5 separate regions of the Homo sapiens genome follow, and regions 2, 3, 4 and 5 are each linked to region 1. The links are contacts of gene promoters, found by promoter capture Hi-C in human tissues and cell types (Jung and others, 2019). All regions are on one chromosome and are shown on one strand. Each heading gives the region's core, a stretch centred on a gene start or on the middle of the fragment in contact. The rest is flanking DNA. Distances are from core to core; before and after follow the strand shown.

Region 1 (2,626 bases), core at 73-2,572:
ATAAAATACAACCAAATTCCCCGAAGACTTTCCCCCAACTTATTTCAATCCTACTTAAGCGACTATAGGTAAAGGTGGAAATAGGGCTATGGGCTGAGAACGCATGGGTGGGCTGCCCTGGGTGTATTCCAACGGAACCTGCACTAAAGAGGAAGTCTTTTTGCAAAGGAGAGAAAGGAAGAGGAGGGAAACAGAGGGGAAGGGAACTGCTGAAGGTTTCCCTGAATTGCTTATCAGCAACTCATTTAACTCACTTTCGGATATCTGCTACAACCAGCCACATGCACACCCCATCGGAGCACACCTTACCTATTTGCACGCTGCTCGGAAAGGCTCCCATGGCGAGTCCCCAAAATCCAGAAAATAACAAGACAATCTGTCTGGAAATAATCCTCATCTTCTTTTCTCCTCTCCCTGGCGCGCGCTCTCTCTCTTTCTCTCGCACTCTTCCTAAAGGCTGTTCAGAGAAGCATTGAAGACGATGGCGCTAAAATTAAAATCAACCAAAAAAAAAAAAAAAAAAAGAAAAGAAAGAAAAGAAAGAAAAAAAAGGAAAGAGGTTTCGGTGGTTTAAGATTATGACTAGTTCTCCTTAGCAATCCATCGCGAGCCGCCAGATTTTTCCCGCAGTCTCCATAGCCCTGGGAGAGGTTTTCTGTCCGGCTGCAAATGTTGCACATGCAAAAGATGGTGGTGGAGCGTCTAGTGGCTGCTCGCAGGGATGAGACATGCGCTCTATCTTTGCCTCACTCGCACTCGCGCTCGCCCCTTGCTTTCTCACATACACACAAACACTGGCGCCGCGGCCGCCACACGCGCTCTCCAGCTCGCATCAGCCGACATCCCCCAGCAAGCCTGCACCAGCCCGGAGCATCGCTGCCCTCCTGGCGTCCCCTCCTCGAGCGCGCACTCCCTCCGCACGCCCCTCGCCCACCGCTCGGCTGGCTTCACCCCCTGGGTGCTCACCGGAGCGCCCCAGTCTCCCGGACGCTCCGGAGCCAGTCTGGTGTCAGGTTTTCCCTTCTGACCACTCGCTGACTCCCTCCTCTTTTCTTCCTCGGTTCGCAGAGGGACCGACTCTGGGGATGGGCACCCCCAGCGCCCCTCTCTTGGTTTTCCTGGCACCTCTGCTTCTCGGCTGCGCTAGGCAGAAAATCCGCCCACGGGCCAGGTCTGCAAGCCCCAATCGGGGGCTCCGGGGGGTTAGTACCTCCCCATGCCCCCAGGCCCCTGCCGCATCCTTGCAGGTTCGTGAGGAGGACGGGCTGCCTCCCTCTCCTACAGTCCTGGCTTCCCTCTCAGCCTAGCCCTCTTCTGCCACTGGGCTGCGCGCGGGGGACTCCGGTCCTCGCTGCAGCAAAGATTTCTCACCAGCAAACAGCCCGGGAATCTGGAGAGCCTGACAAGGGAATGGATGAGGTGAAAGGGTTCAGAGAGGGATGGGAGGAGAAAAGACAGGCAAAGGGCAGCCCCTGGCGGGTTTAAGAGGCCAGGACCAGGATGAAAGAATTGGAGGAGGTAAGGATGGGGAAGAGAGCCAGAGAAGTTGAAACATCCTGGGAAGGGGAGGAGGGGGTAAAAGGTTATTTTAAATAACTGACGAAGTTTAGGGTACTGAACGGGATGGGGAAAAGACTGAGAAATGAAAATTGAAAGAGGCCTCTAACATTCTCTTGGAAAGGCATGAAGCAGGGATAGGAATAAGAACTGCGTGAAGTGTAAAGTAGGAAAAGTGATTAAAGATTCGATTGCTTTCTATACAGTCACCCATTCCGGAGGACTCTTTCCTTCTGTGCTGTGGCCCATTGCAGGAGCAGGAGGGACACAGCGCAAAGGCTGATGAAGGACCAGAGGGGCAGTGCTTGGGGCAGTGGGCACAGGTGTCTGACAGGAAGATAGTGTTTCGTGCACATCTCCTCTTGTCTGGGACTCTGGAATGCTCACTCTGCTCCACGCCACCTCCAGGTAGACTTAAGCACTTCAGTGATGATGTCAATAGTTGTTTTGACTGGGTAGAAGTGAAAATGAATTATCCTAGAAAGTTTTGGGGTTACAGTCTCACTTGCTCTCCAGAGTCACCTTTAAGATTGTCCTTTCATCTGCCTGTCCTGGACTGAGCTTGAACCACACTCAGAAGCAGTCACTGTGGTAGCCGTGAGTGACCGGTTTCTGATTTCCTCTGTATGGTTTGAGATTTCCTGATCTAGTTAGTAAATACAATCTCCTGTTCCAATAAGCTGTGTGAGAGAATCATTAGAAGGAGAGGTTCTCCTTAAACGTTAGGGAACCTAGGGTGATGTCTGCCATTAAATTTTTAAAAAGAATATAGCAAATGCCTAGGTTTGCCTGATATAATATTTGAGACTACAATGCTTAAAGTGGAATTCTTGCAAGGGACTTACAGAAAGCCTGGTAACGGCTTTTTGAAATATACATTACCTTAACTCTTTCAAAATACTTTATTTGGTGTCACTGATTACCTGTATTTGTAGTTTGTAGATGACATTTTAAAATCCCTGCTAAAACTTGAGTGCTTTTCTATTTCCTAAGTTTTGAATTTTATTTTTAAAATTGCATCTTTAAAATAAGTGTCTGCTTTCCCGTTACATTTCACCACAGATTGTTA
Region 2 (2,626 bases), core at 91-2,590, 420 kb after region 1:
AGTGAAAGAGAAAGGAGTTTCCAGGAAATAAAGTGGATTAAGCTTCCTGAAATATGGGAAATAATATATCATTTATAAGAATTATTATTTTCAGCATTTGTTGATATTATGGTTTGGTGAAAATTATTACGTAGACATTTTCTTTTCATTCCAGTATATTTTTTTGAAAATTTCTGTTGTACTTTGAGATATTTAATATATATGCTTTACCTTTTTTAATGTGTAAAAAACTTTAGATGTCTCATGTCATTAATTGAATTTTGAATATTCCAATGTAATTTCCCATAGACTATACATTTAAACTGCATATTTTAAATACTGAGTTTTCACTGCTACTTAGTGGTTTTAAGTATTTTTAGATAATATCTTTTGGTTTCTTAGCTTGAAGAATGAGGATATGGCTCTTTTTCACATCCCTGCACTACCTTATACACTCACACATATGCACACAAGAAGAACTGATAAATTACTTTATGTATTTGACTACAAAGAAACCAGTGTGTGTGTGTACATGTGTGTGTTTGAAATATCTCTCCTGAAATCTTTACTCCTCTTGTTCCAGTCTAAACTGGATTTTTCTCTAGTCTCCTCTTTACACCCTTTTGTGTTAAATGCCCTGATTCCTGGGTCCTTCCTAAATCTATTCCTTCGTTTTTTATGAAATATATACTTCAACAATGTTCTATAGATACTCTGTAACACAGAAAAAGGTGCACAGAGAAAGTTAATTTAAGCCCTTGCATGTTTGAAAATATTTTTATCCTTGCATTTAGTTTGCAGTGAGATTCATAGACTTCCAGGAGAGAAAAGACTTTCCCTCAGAAACTGAATCCATTGTTCAGTTCTTTTTTAGTTTCCAGTGTTGCTTGTTAGAAGTAAGAAGTCATTTTTATTCCTTTGTATAAGCCCTTTGTATGTAACCCATTTTTTTCCTTTCCAGATGCTCTTAGGACTTTTCCCAAATGTCCTGAAATTGTATAGTTATGAAGAGTAGTCATGAGTATTGATGAATCTGAGTCACATTGTGGATACTCAGTGGACCCTTTTTTTTTGTGGAAAATCTTATCCTTCTATTCTGGAAAAATTTCTTAAGTGATGCTTTCATAATATCCTCCCCATCATTGTCTCTCTCAGTGGAACTCATTAGTTGGCCTGTTAGACTGAGCTTTTGTTGTTGTTGTTGTTGTTAACCTTTTAGAATTCTATTATTTTAAAATTATTTTTTTCACCTGCAAAATTTTCTATTCATTGCTTTTCAACATTTCAATCATTTGTTTTTATTTTTGTCAAAAGATTTCACATTTCTAAAAATTTGTATTCTCTGAATACTCTCATATCATAAATGTAATATAGTATTTTTAGATTTGAAGATGAGAATTATAATTTTATATGAGTGTTTTTTATTCCCCATATGATCTCTGATGTTTTTATTTGTTCTTTTTTCTATCTTTGGATTTTCATGTGCATTTTTTTGTGTTTTGTTTTTAAGGAGCTTCTCAAATACCTGGTGATCCTTGGCTGTCCAATCAAAATAAGTAGGTCCTAACATTCTAATAGGAAGATTTATGTATGTGGTAATGGCTTGTTTAATCATGAATTTGTATTTAGGTAGGGTACAAGGTTTTTGTTGTTTTTTTTTTACCTTTTATTTTAGGTTTAGGGGTACATGGGCAGGATTGTTGTGTAGGTAAACTTCACGTTGCGGGGAATTTGTAGTTCTCTATTCTACAGGGCAGTTTCCTCAGAAAGAAATCCTCCAGTCATCTGCCAACAACAGAAAAGCATAGAGGCCAGAGTAGTGGGAGGCAGGCAGCCATGGGGGCAAGAGGACCTCCATTCAGTACACCCTCGATCGCCTGGTTCCATGTGTCCAGGGGGGTGCCTCATCTTTGACCTTAGCTGGTCAAGATGTCTCCAATTCACAGTCTCTGTAATTCAACATCTTCAGAGAATAATCCTTTTTTTTTTTTTTTTTTCCTGCAGAGCTCAAGAAAGGGCAATTGACTAGTTTGTTGGACTTGGGGAGAACATCAGGGCAGCTACCTGCTCCTAAAGACACTTTCAACAAATCTTTTGTTTTCTGTCCCACTTCACACTCTGGCTTTCAGAGATAATTTGCGACTCCAATTTTTGACACTTTCCATGGTTCTGTACCATAAATCATGATTTTTTTAAATTGTCATTACCCAAGCTGTCATGTTCTGGATTTTTCATGTATACACTCAGTTACTATTCATCTGTATGCTTTCTATATTCCAAAAATAACATTTTATGTACTAAAATCTGTTTTCTTTGATTTTTTGCTTATATATATTCAAAAATAACTTAATGTCACTTTAGTTGGGTTTTCAGAGAGACCAGAAATGCCTGTTGCCTATGCACCATTTATAAAATTGAAAATCTTCACTTAGTTTCCAGTAATATATTTTATATTTGTTGTATTCTATTAAAAGTGCTCTTGTGAAGTCACCAATAACCACTGTTGTGCCAGAAACAATGTAATCCTTCCAGTGACATTGATCTTGATGACCACAAATCACTTAAAAAATGTCACTCCCTGACTTCTCTGTCTTTAAGAACCTCCCATTCTCTGACCCTTTCTTAGTCTCAAATTGTTCTCAATCTC
Region 3 (2,626 bases), core at 51-2,550, 410 kb before region 1:
CCTGCAACATAGGGTACTAAGAAGCAGCATATTGGGGCTGGTTTAATGATGTGTGTAAATCACTTTGCTTCAGTTTTTTATATTGTGGCTTATAAACATGGTACCTCATGAATATTTTTAGTCACCTCTAGAGGAAAGCTGAATGCTTGCCCAAGCTATTGGATAATTTGAATTACATAGGAATGTTAGGCCAGAGTATTAATTAAATGTGATCCTCTAAAATTATTTAAGTGTTCTAGGCTCAGCATGGTGGCTCACACCTGTAATCCTAGCACTTTAGGAGGCTAAGGCAGGAGGATCACCTGAGGCAAAAAGTTCAAGACCAGCCTGGACAACATAGCAAGACCTTGTCTATATAAAAGCTTTAAAAATTAGTAGTACATGGTGGTGCACCTGCCTTGCTACTCAGGAAGCTGAGGCGGGAAGATCACTGGGGCTCAGGAGTTTGAGGGTGCAATGAATTATGATTGAGCCACTGTACTCCAGTCTGGGGAACAGAGTGAGACCCTGTCTCTAAAAATAAAATAAAATTATAAGCATTCTACAGTGTTCACTAAACTGCCTTGGAATCAGATGTTAAAACATTTCATTTTCTTTTATTTATTAGATAATATTTGATTTACACAAAAATAATATAGCTGGAGTGTTCTAATAAAGCAGCTCTCTGCCCACTCAAAAAAAAAAAAAAGTTCTAATTTGACAATTCTGTAGTATTAGTAAGTGCCGTCTTGGCCAATTTTTAGCTCCTAACATGACATGGCTGAATGTGGAGTTGCAAAGAGATGTCCGCAATTGATTCTTGAGAGCTCTCATGGGCAGGTTCCACCACACTCCTAATGTAAGTATATATGTTATGAAGCATAATAATAAAGACCCATGGGACCTATCCCTCAACTTAGGAACTAAACAATTCCAATATTATTGTGACATTTTTGTTTCCTTTTGTCAAAGTTATTTAAATGTTTTGCCTTTGATGTGGCAAATACATAATAGTGCTTAATGTGCACCAGGAACTGTTCTCTTTGTTTGACTAAGTCCTTTAATCCTTATAGGATTTCTATGAAGTAATGTTATTATCATTTTACAAATAAAATTACGCATAGGGAAGTTAAGTAACTGAGGCCACACAGCTAGGAATTGCCAGAGCCAGGACTCTAACCCGGGTGGTCTGACTCCAGAATCTGTGCTCATAACTACTACACACACTACCTCTTTTGATGTTTCTATTTATAGATAAACTTTGCTTATATTATTTGCTTATATTCTAGAGGATAAAGGTTTACATTTGACTGTAAGAGGAGTATATCTCTAGGGCAGTATCAAGAGTGCTATTGTTGGTTATACATTCCAATTTTGTGGATTTCAATTTTATTATTAAATTTCTCTTGAGAAATTTTCAAAGTCTATAAGTCTACTTTAGAAATAGTTGGCTTGCAGTCTTCTTTTCTTTTGTTTTTGCATACGTTGCCCTTTTTTGTGGGTATGTGAAATTGACAGTGATTTCTTGAGAGTTCATTTCAGCTGTTTTGAATTTTTAGTTTTCTGACCTCTATTTCAGCAGCAAGTGGCAGTTCAGGAGATGGTTATTCCACATGAGTGATTGGAAACAAAGATGTGGTGATGGGCATATATTTGTTGATGTTATTAGACACGTACAAAGTCAGCTGAAGAAAGAATACCAAGAGCTTGAAAAGGAAAAATGCATAAAGGTTTAATGCAATGGTGATAAGAAATGCTTTGTTATTAAGTTTAAAAATAAGGTATTAGCATCCACTTTTCAGTCTAAAAGAGAAAAGATGATAGAAAAGATGTGCATTTTCTTATTCAATTTAGCCTTGCTTAATTGCTATATTTTTGCTTCAGTAGAAGATACTATTTGTATTGTGAATTAGAGTAGAACTATTTTTCACACTAATGAAAAGTTTAAATTGGCAGACAGAGTAAGAGAAAAGAAACCATGTGTTAAAAGGTAAACTGAGACATGATAACTTTTAACAAGTTTATTTGAGCAAACAGTGATTCTTGAATCAGGCAGCTCCAAACCAGAAGTGGTTTGGGGGCTCTGCAGTGGAAACACAAAGCGGGGAGGCTTTATAGGTCTAACAGAAGTAAAACAAAGTAAATATTTGATTGGTTACAGTTATAAGATTGTCTAATTTGACCTATCCTGCTGGAAGGTTACATAAGTTAGTTGCATAAGTTAGCTGACAGCTTCTGATTGCTTAGTCTTAAGTTTCTTTTTTAAAAAATATCGATATTTACCAAAAAAATAGCCCAAGTTAAGTGTTGCATATGTTTGCAAATGAAGCAAGGTTAAAGTCTCTTATGAGGCCTAACTGGTTTTGTCTGCTTAGGGATTCTTCAGGCCAGGTCTCCGGTCTAATTTACTTTAACAGGAGGTAGAGGAAATGTAACCGATTGAAAGAATTTTATCTGGACCTTCCACATAGGTAAGAGTCTCCTTTTGAAAATCTTTTACTAAATGACATCTCAAAACTTACCTTAGCAACACTTTTTTGTTGTTGTTGTTGTTTGAGACAAAGTCTCACTGTTTCCCCCAGGTTGGGGTGCAGTGGCACAATCTCGGCTCACTGCAACCTCCACCTACTGGGTTCAAGCGATTCTC
Region 4 (2,626 bases), core at 83-2,582, 310 kb after region 1:
ATCATTGATTGAGCATCTTCTATGTATAGGGATGGCATTAATCACTGTGGGTAAAACATGGCTTCTGTCATCTCAAAACTTATGACTTACTAGGAAACAGAGACAAATATATCAAGGCACACAGGACAATGGCAGATGCTATGGGAAAGAAAGATAAGAAAGACAAAGGTGCAATGAGGGCAGAAAAGAAGGGCATTTAAATTAGACTGGAAGAGCCAGAAACACTTCTCAGAAGTAATTATTGAGTTTTATCATGTCTAAAAAATATAATTTGTTTCAATGAGGGCATGATGAGAGGTTACCACTTTAAGCAGAACATACAGTTTTGTCTTCTATTAGCATAGCCAATTAAGAATTGATGGATTGAATACATTTTGAATATATTTTAATCTATGTGGTAAAAAGTATTATTATAAGCTACTCCACTGAATATTTTATATTATTGAGTCAAAATAAATATGTAGCTGGACATCACATGGCCATTGTCTGGGAGCTGAACTGACACTAAAGCTGAGACTTTTAATATTGTTCTTGAGCTGACTTTAGCCTCTATTAGAGACTCAGCAAGCAAAGTGAATTGACATGGACCCTAGGAGATAAGGATGGAAGTGCCATAATTCATACTTATCTTTTCTGACCATATCCATTGTTCTTCCCTAGATCTTGGTCATTTTCTATAGTCTGTTTTCAGGAGGTGAGCTTGAAATATTAATTGTCTGAGGTAGAGAGACATAAGGAGAGATGGCAAATGCTGCTTAAAGAGAGAATTGAATAACTGCAGAGCTCTTCTTTTGCTTCATGGAATACAAATGCCATTCATCTTTACATTTAATACATTCACTCATCAAACATTTATGGAATATCTACTATGTGGTAAAATTCTCTGCTGGGATTCACAGATGAATCAGACTTACTTTATACCTCACTGAAACTCATGACTTAGAAGAGACTGACCTGTAGGCACATAAATGAGTGGAACAGACTGGAATTGGCCTATTGATTAATGCATGCATGGGCCAGATGAGCAGAAGGACACAAAGAAGACCTGGCTTCCAGCAGGAAATGATGACTGAGCTGCTTCTAGAAAAGCTAGAAAGTAAATGTGCAACAGCCTAATGAGGACATTTCAGGCAGTGGCAAAGCATGAGGTGTGTGGCAGACTTGGTTATAGGGTTTGTGTAAGACTTGGGTGGTGTTGCATAAAAAGAGCTAGTAGTAGCAGCAGAGTCTAGAAAGGCATAAGGAGGCTGACATCACACTTAGAGAAGAGCTTAGTCTTATTATAGAAGATGAAAGGGGTCATTAAAATGATAACAGCTTTTTTGAATATAGCTTTGTACATGTATCCATGGCGGGATTATTTGCAACAGTAAACAGGTAGAAACAACTCAAATGTCCATCAGTTGATTAATGGATAAACAAAATGTGATGTGTGCATGCAACAAAACATGGTGTGTGCACTGTGGGTGAGTGTGCACATGCACACATACACATATGCACAGTGGAATATTTCTGTCACAAAAACATGGATGAAGAATGAAAACAGTAGGCTAAGTGAAAGAAGCTAAATTCAATGGCCACATATTGTATGATTTCATTTACATAAAAATCTAAAGTATACAAAGCAGATTGGTAGTTACCAGTGACTGAGAGAAGAAAGAACAATGAAGTCCTGTGTAATGAGTACATAGTTTACTTTAGGATGAGGATGTTCTTGAAGTAGGTATTGGTGATGATTACACAACATTGTGAATGTATTAAATGCCACCAAAGTTTACATTTTCAAATTGTTAAAATCATAAATGTTATATTATGGGTATTTTATCATAATGGAAAAAAATAAATACATTAACAGCTTAAAACTAGGGAACATAACAGGAATAGTGGTACCAAAGAACCACAAAATGACTGGCGAACAGTCACTTTGTTAGAAGCATCACACAGTTGCATATGCAGGATTCTGGGGGAGATGCCTGATTTGCAAAGCTGACCAGCAAAATGTTTCTAATGGGACCTCTCCCAGAACATGGAGTTCATTTTTATCCCCTTTGTATTATTTGCCCTTTATTATTACAGCCATGCAGATACCTCTTTGAATATGGGAGCTATGTCTATTATTTTGGCACTAAAGGTAATGCTAGAATCACAGTAGACATTTAAGAAAGTGACTTCATGATTGGGTTTTAGTGTTAATGTGACCTTAAAATCAGTATAGTGTAAACCCCTAAGAGGACAATTTCCTTACATGGGCCTTCCCCATTCTCTTAATAGGCTATTCTTCATTTTCCAATTAAATCGTGTTTACTTTCCTTTTCAAACTACTAAACAGTATACCTTTGTAGCTTGCATCATAGTTTGCTTTTTCTTCAGGGTGAATACTTTGAATAGTAATTTCTTTCATGTTGTCTGAATTCTATTCCAATTGTAAAAGAATTTATATAACCTGGGTGAACCATGCTAACCTAATGTTATCAACATATATCAATCTAGTGAGTTGATCAAATACATATTAACCTTGGATTTTAAAATCAGAAAATTAAGGCTCAAGGTAATTAAGTGGCATGGCATAAATAATAGAGGTCAGAGCCTGCACTAGGACTTGGGACTTCACTTTCGAATTGGCAAT
Region 5 (2,626 bases), core at 93-2,592, 280 kb before region 1:
GACTACAGAATATTTTAAATATTCTGGAATATTTGTAAACATCACAAGTAAGAATTGTTATTGTAGAAATCAGTTTTTTACTAATACTGTTAAATCACCCTTGATGAGTTGGTTTAAGTATAGCAGTTCTCCATTAATTGTAAATTGTAATTGTAAATTATCAATGAAATATTTTCTTGGTTTAATTTTTAGAATATTATTGCTAGCATATAGACATACAATAAACTGTTGTATATTCACCTTGCATTCTGCAACCCTGTGGAACTTACTAGTTCTATAAATATTTTTTGATTCCTTAGTATTTTTATATACATATAATCTTCTTTTTCAATCTGGATGCCTTTTATTGATTTTACCTAAATATCTGTAATAGAACCTTCAGTACAACGTTCAATAGAAGTGGTGAGAGAGGACACTCTTATCTTGTTCCTGATTTTAGGGGAAAATCATTCAGTCTTTCAACCTTAAGTATGATGTTGATGTAATTTTTCATTTTGATTCTGGATTGACTTCACATTTGAGAATCTTATGCACATAGCTCTCAAAAATAGTTGTTGATTGGCTCAATAAAATAAAAACTACTCTAGTGTTATAAGTAATAGTCCTTTAGGGATAAATGAATAAGTCAATAGAATCCATATTAATACACTGTATTATAATGTATGTCCATGGCAGCCACTGATCTAATCATGTGTTACAAAGATATCAACCACATATAATAAAACTTGCTGATTTTTAGTGAAAGTGATGGTTCTAGTCCCTACTGCAAACAAAAATGGTTTTCTACTTCATATACTGGAACGCTAGATAACTTAAATACACTGCCATCTCCTAGGGCTGTTTACGATATCCTTTGTAGTATTACAAATATTAATTCATTCCATCTTGTATTGATTTATTTATTTTAATTGCCAATGTCAGCAACTCATTTCTGGAATGATAATCTACATATAACACATTGATTTTTTTCCCCTCAATTCTATTGTTTGTAAGAATAGATGACAAAACCTATTTGCTATAAAAGTCATTAGAGTCTCATTGTACATTTCACTGTACTTAGTTATCTCATAATCCTAAGTTTTTTTCTCTTATAGTAATTAATATCAGAATATATTTGTCTTAAATTTTATATTTTTATAAAAAATAGTGAAACACTCTACTAAAACAGCCTACTAAAAAGCAATGAAAAAGACAAGTCAAAATTTCTCAGTATTTTCATGATAATCCATTAAGTCGCAAGATTATACTTTATCTAAGAAACACAATATAATCATGGTTCACAGTATTTTGCTGTATTTTAATATCTCAGATCCACAACCAAACCCAGTTCACTAAAGACCGAAAATTCCTGTCTCAAAGTCTGACAGTCCACTTGCCATACGGAAAGAATGGGTAGATCTGAATCTCTTTTGCATCCTTTAGTTTCTTTCCTGTTTCAAGCGCAAGATAGTCATTAAAAAAAAGTGTCATAAAAATAGAAAAAGGAGGCCGGGCGTGGTGGCTCACGCCTGTAATCCCAGCACTTTGGGAGGCCGAGGCGGGCGGATCACGAGGTCAGGAGATCGAGACCATCCCGGCTAAAACGGTGAAACCCCGTCTCTACTAAAAATACAAAAAAAAATTAGCCGGGCGTAGTGGCGGGCACCTGTAGTCCCAGCTACTTGGGAGGCTGAGGCAGGAGAATGGCGTGAACCCGGGAGGCGGAGCTTGCAGTGAGCCGAGATCCCGCCACTGCACTCCAGCCTGGGCGACAGAGTGAGACTCCGTCTCAAAAAAAAAAAAAAAAAAAAAAAAAAAAAAGGAGAAAACATCCTTAACTTCTCCAATATAAATCACTTTGGGAATCAGGCCCTTAGGGCAAATGGTACTCTATAATAAAGCAAGAGAGGCTGGGCCGCTCCATACATAATCTACCCCCTACACTACATGGTTAACAAGACATATTCAATGAGCCTTGCCAAGATATCTAAAAGGATTTCTCTCAGACCTTTAAGAATTTCATAAAAATATGTGTATCTTGTTTGTTAGCCATTTCTATATGATATGTGAAAAGTTGACATAATTTTTAAAAATTTGGATTACTCCCATTTAAAAGATTTGCTTATATAGCCATTATATACAGTTATTCTTAAAATTAGAGAACATAAGCTATTAGTTTAGATCATTCTTATAATATCCAAATATTGGCTATCTTTGTCTATAAAGTAGCATTTATCATTTAGACAGAGAAAATTATTTAATTTGACAAGTGGTATCGTAGCAAAGTAACCATTATCATTTCTTTTAAAGGTCTCTTTAGCAGATACCAAGCTAATCTGCATAAAAATATATTGAATTCTACTGGTGAAATTTAATGATCATTGTAATAAAATATCATGTGTTATTAAAAGCTTAGTAAGTAATGTACTCTATTTATTGAAGCATTATTTAAGGCACAGTTAAAATAATCTTGTGTGCTTGAGCAATTCTTATGAAAAGTAGAAAATAAGAAGTTCTTACCAAGTTTGCAATGATATAATGGTAGCCTTTAACATGCTTTCCAACACTTACAATCTGTGAAGATATAAGCAAATAAGAGAAAATCAATTTTAATTCACTGAAATATTATTTTAAAATTATTATCTAT

The links. The method cuts DNA at HindIII sites, captures the fragments that hold promoters and counts their contacts. A contact is called where the count stands out against the background at its distance.
Region 2: a contact is called between a fragment that was not itself captured here and the fragment with the promoter of GRIA4 in region 1, in 2 of the 25 tissues and cell types used here (IMR-90 fibroblasts and hippocampus).
Region 3: a fragment that was not itself captured here is called in contact with the fragment with the promoter of GRIA4 in region 1 in 2 of the 25 tissues and cell types used here (H1 embryonic stem cells and mesenchymal stem cells).
Region 4: a fragment that was not itself captured here is called in contact with the fragment with the promoter of GRIA4 in region 1 in 2 of the 25 tissues and cell types used here (IMR-90 fibroblasts and aorta).
Region 5: a contact is called between a fragment that was not itself captured here and the fragment with the promoter of GRIA4 in region 1, in 2 of the 25 tissues and cell types used here (dorsolateral prefrontal cortex and hippocampus).

What each region holds. Positions count from the first base shown.
Region 1 is chr11:105,608,769-105,611,394 of GRCh38, reverse strand. It overlaps GRIA4 (glutamate ionotropic receptor AMPA type subunit 4), which reads right to left and starts at 1,322. Exons shown (of 17, transcript NM_000829.4): 1 at 967-1,322; 2 at 310-487. The coding sequence starts at 397. RefSeq lists a silencer at 146-346. The HindIII fragment of the contact is 8,669 bases long and covers 1-2,626 here.
Region 2 is chr11:105,190,114-105,192,739 of GRCh38, reverse strand. All of the region lies in intron 4 of LOC105369468 (a long non-coding RNA gene), which reads left to right. Among named protein-coding and RNA genes, the nearest start is that of CARD18, 52 kb to the right of the region's middle. The HindIII fragment of the contact is 7,007 bases long and covers 1-2,626 here.
Region 3 is chr11:106,013,770-106,016,395 of GRCh38, reverse strand. All of the region lies in intron 1 of MSANTD4 (Myb/SANT DNA binding domain containing 4 with coiled-coils), which reads left to right. Among named protein-coding and RNA genes, the nearest start is that of MSANTD4, 7.2 kb to the left of the region's middle. The HindIII fragment of the contact is 9,647 bases long and covers 1-2,626 here.
Region 4 is chr11:105,300,696-105,303,321 of GRCh38, reverse strand. All of the region lies in intron 2 of LOC105369468 (a long non-coding RNA gene), which reads left to right. Among named protein-coding and RNA genes, the nearest start is that of CARD18, 160 kb to the right of the region's middle. The HindIII fragment of the contact is 4,413 bases long and covers 1-2,626 here.
Region 5 is chr11:105,887,446-105,890,071 of GRCh38, reverse strand. It overlaps GRIA4 (glutamate ionotropic receptor AMPA type subunit 4), which reads right to left. Exons shown (of 17, transcript NM_000829.4): 6 at 2,500-2,553. Among named protein-coding and RNA genes, the nearest start is that of MSANTD4, 130 kb to the left of the region's middle. The HindIII fragment of the contact is 7,114 bases long and covers 1-2,626 here.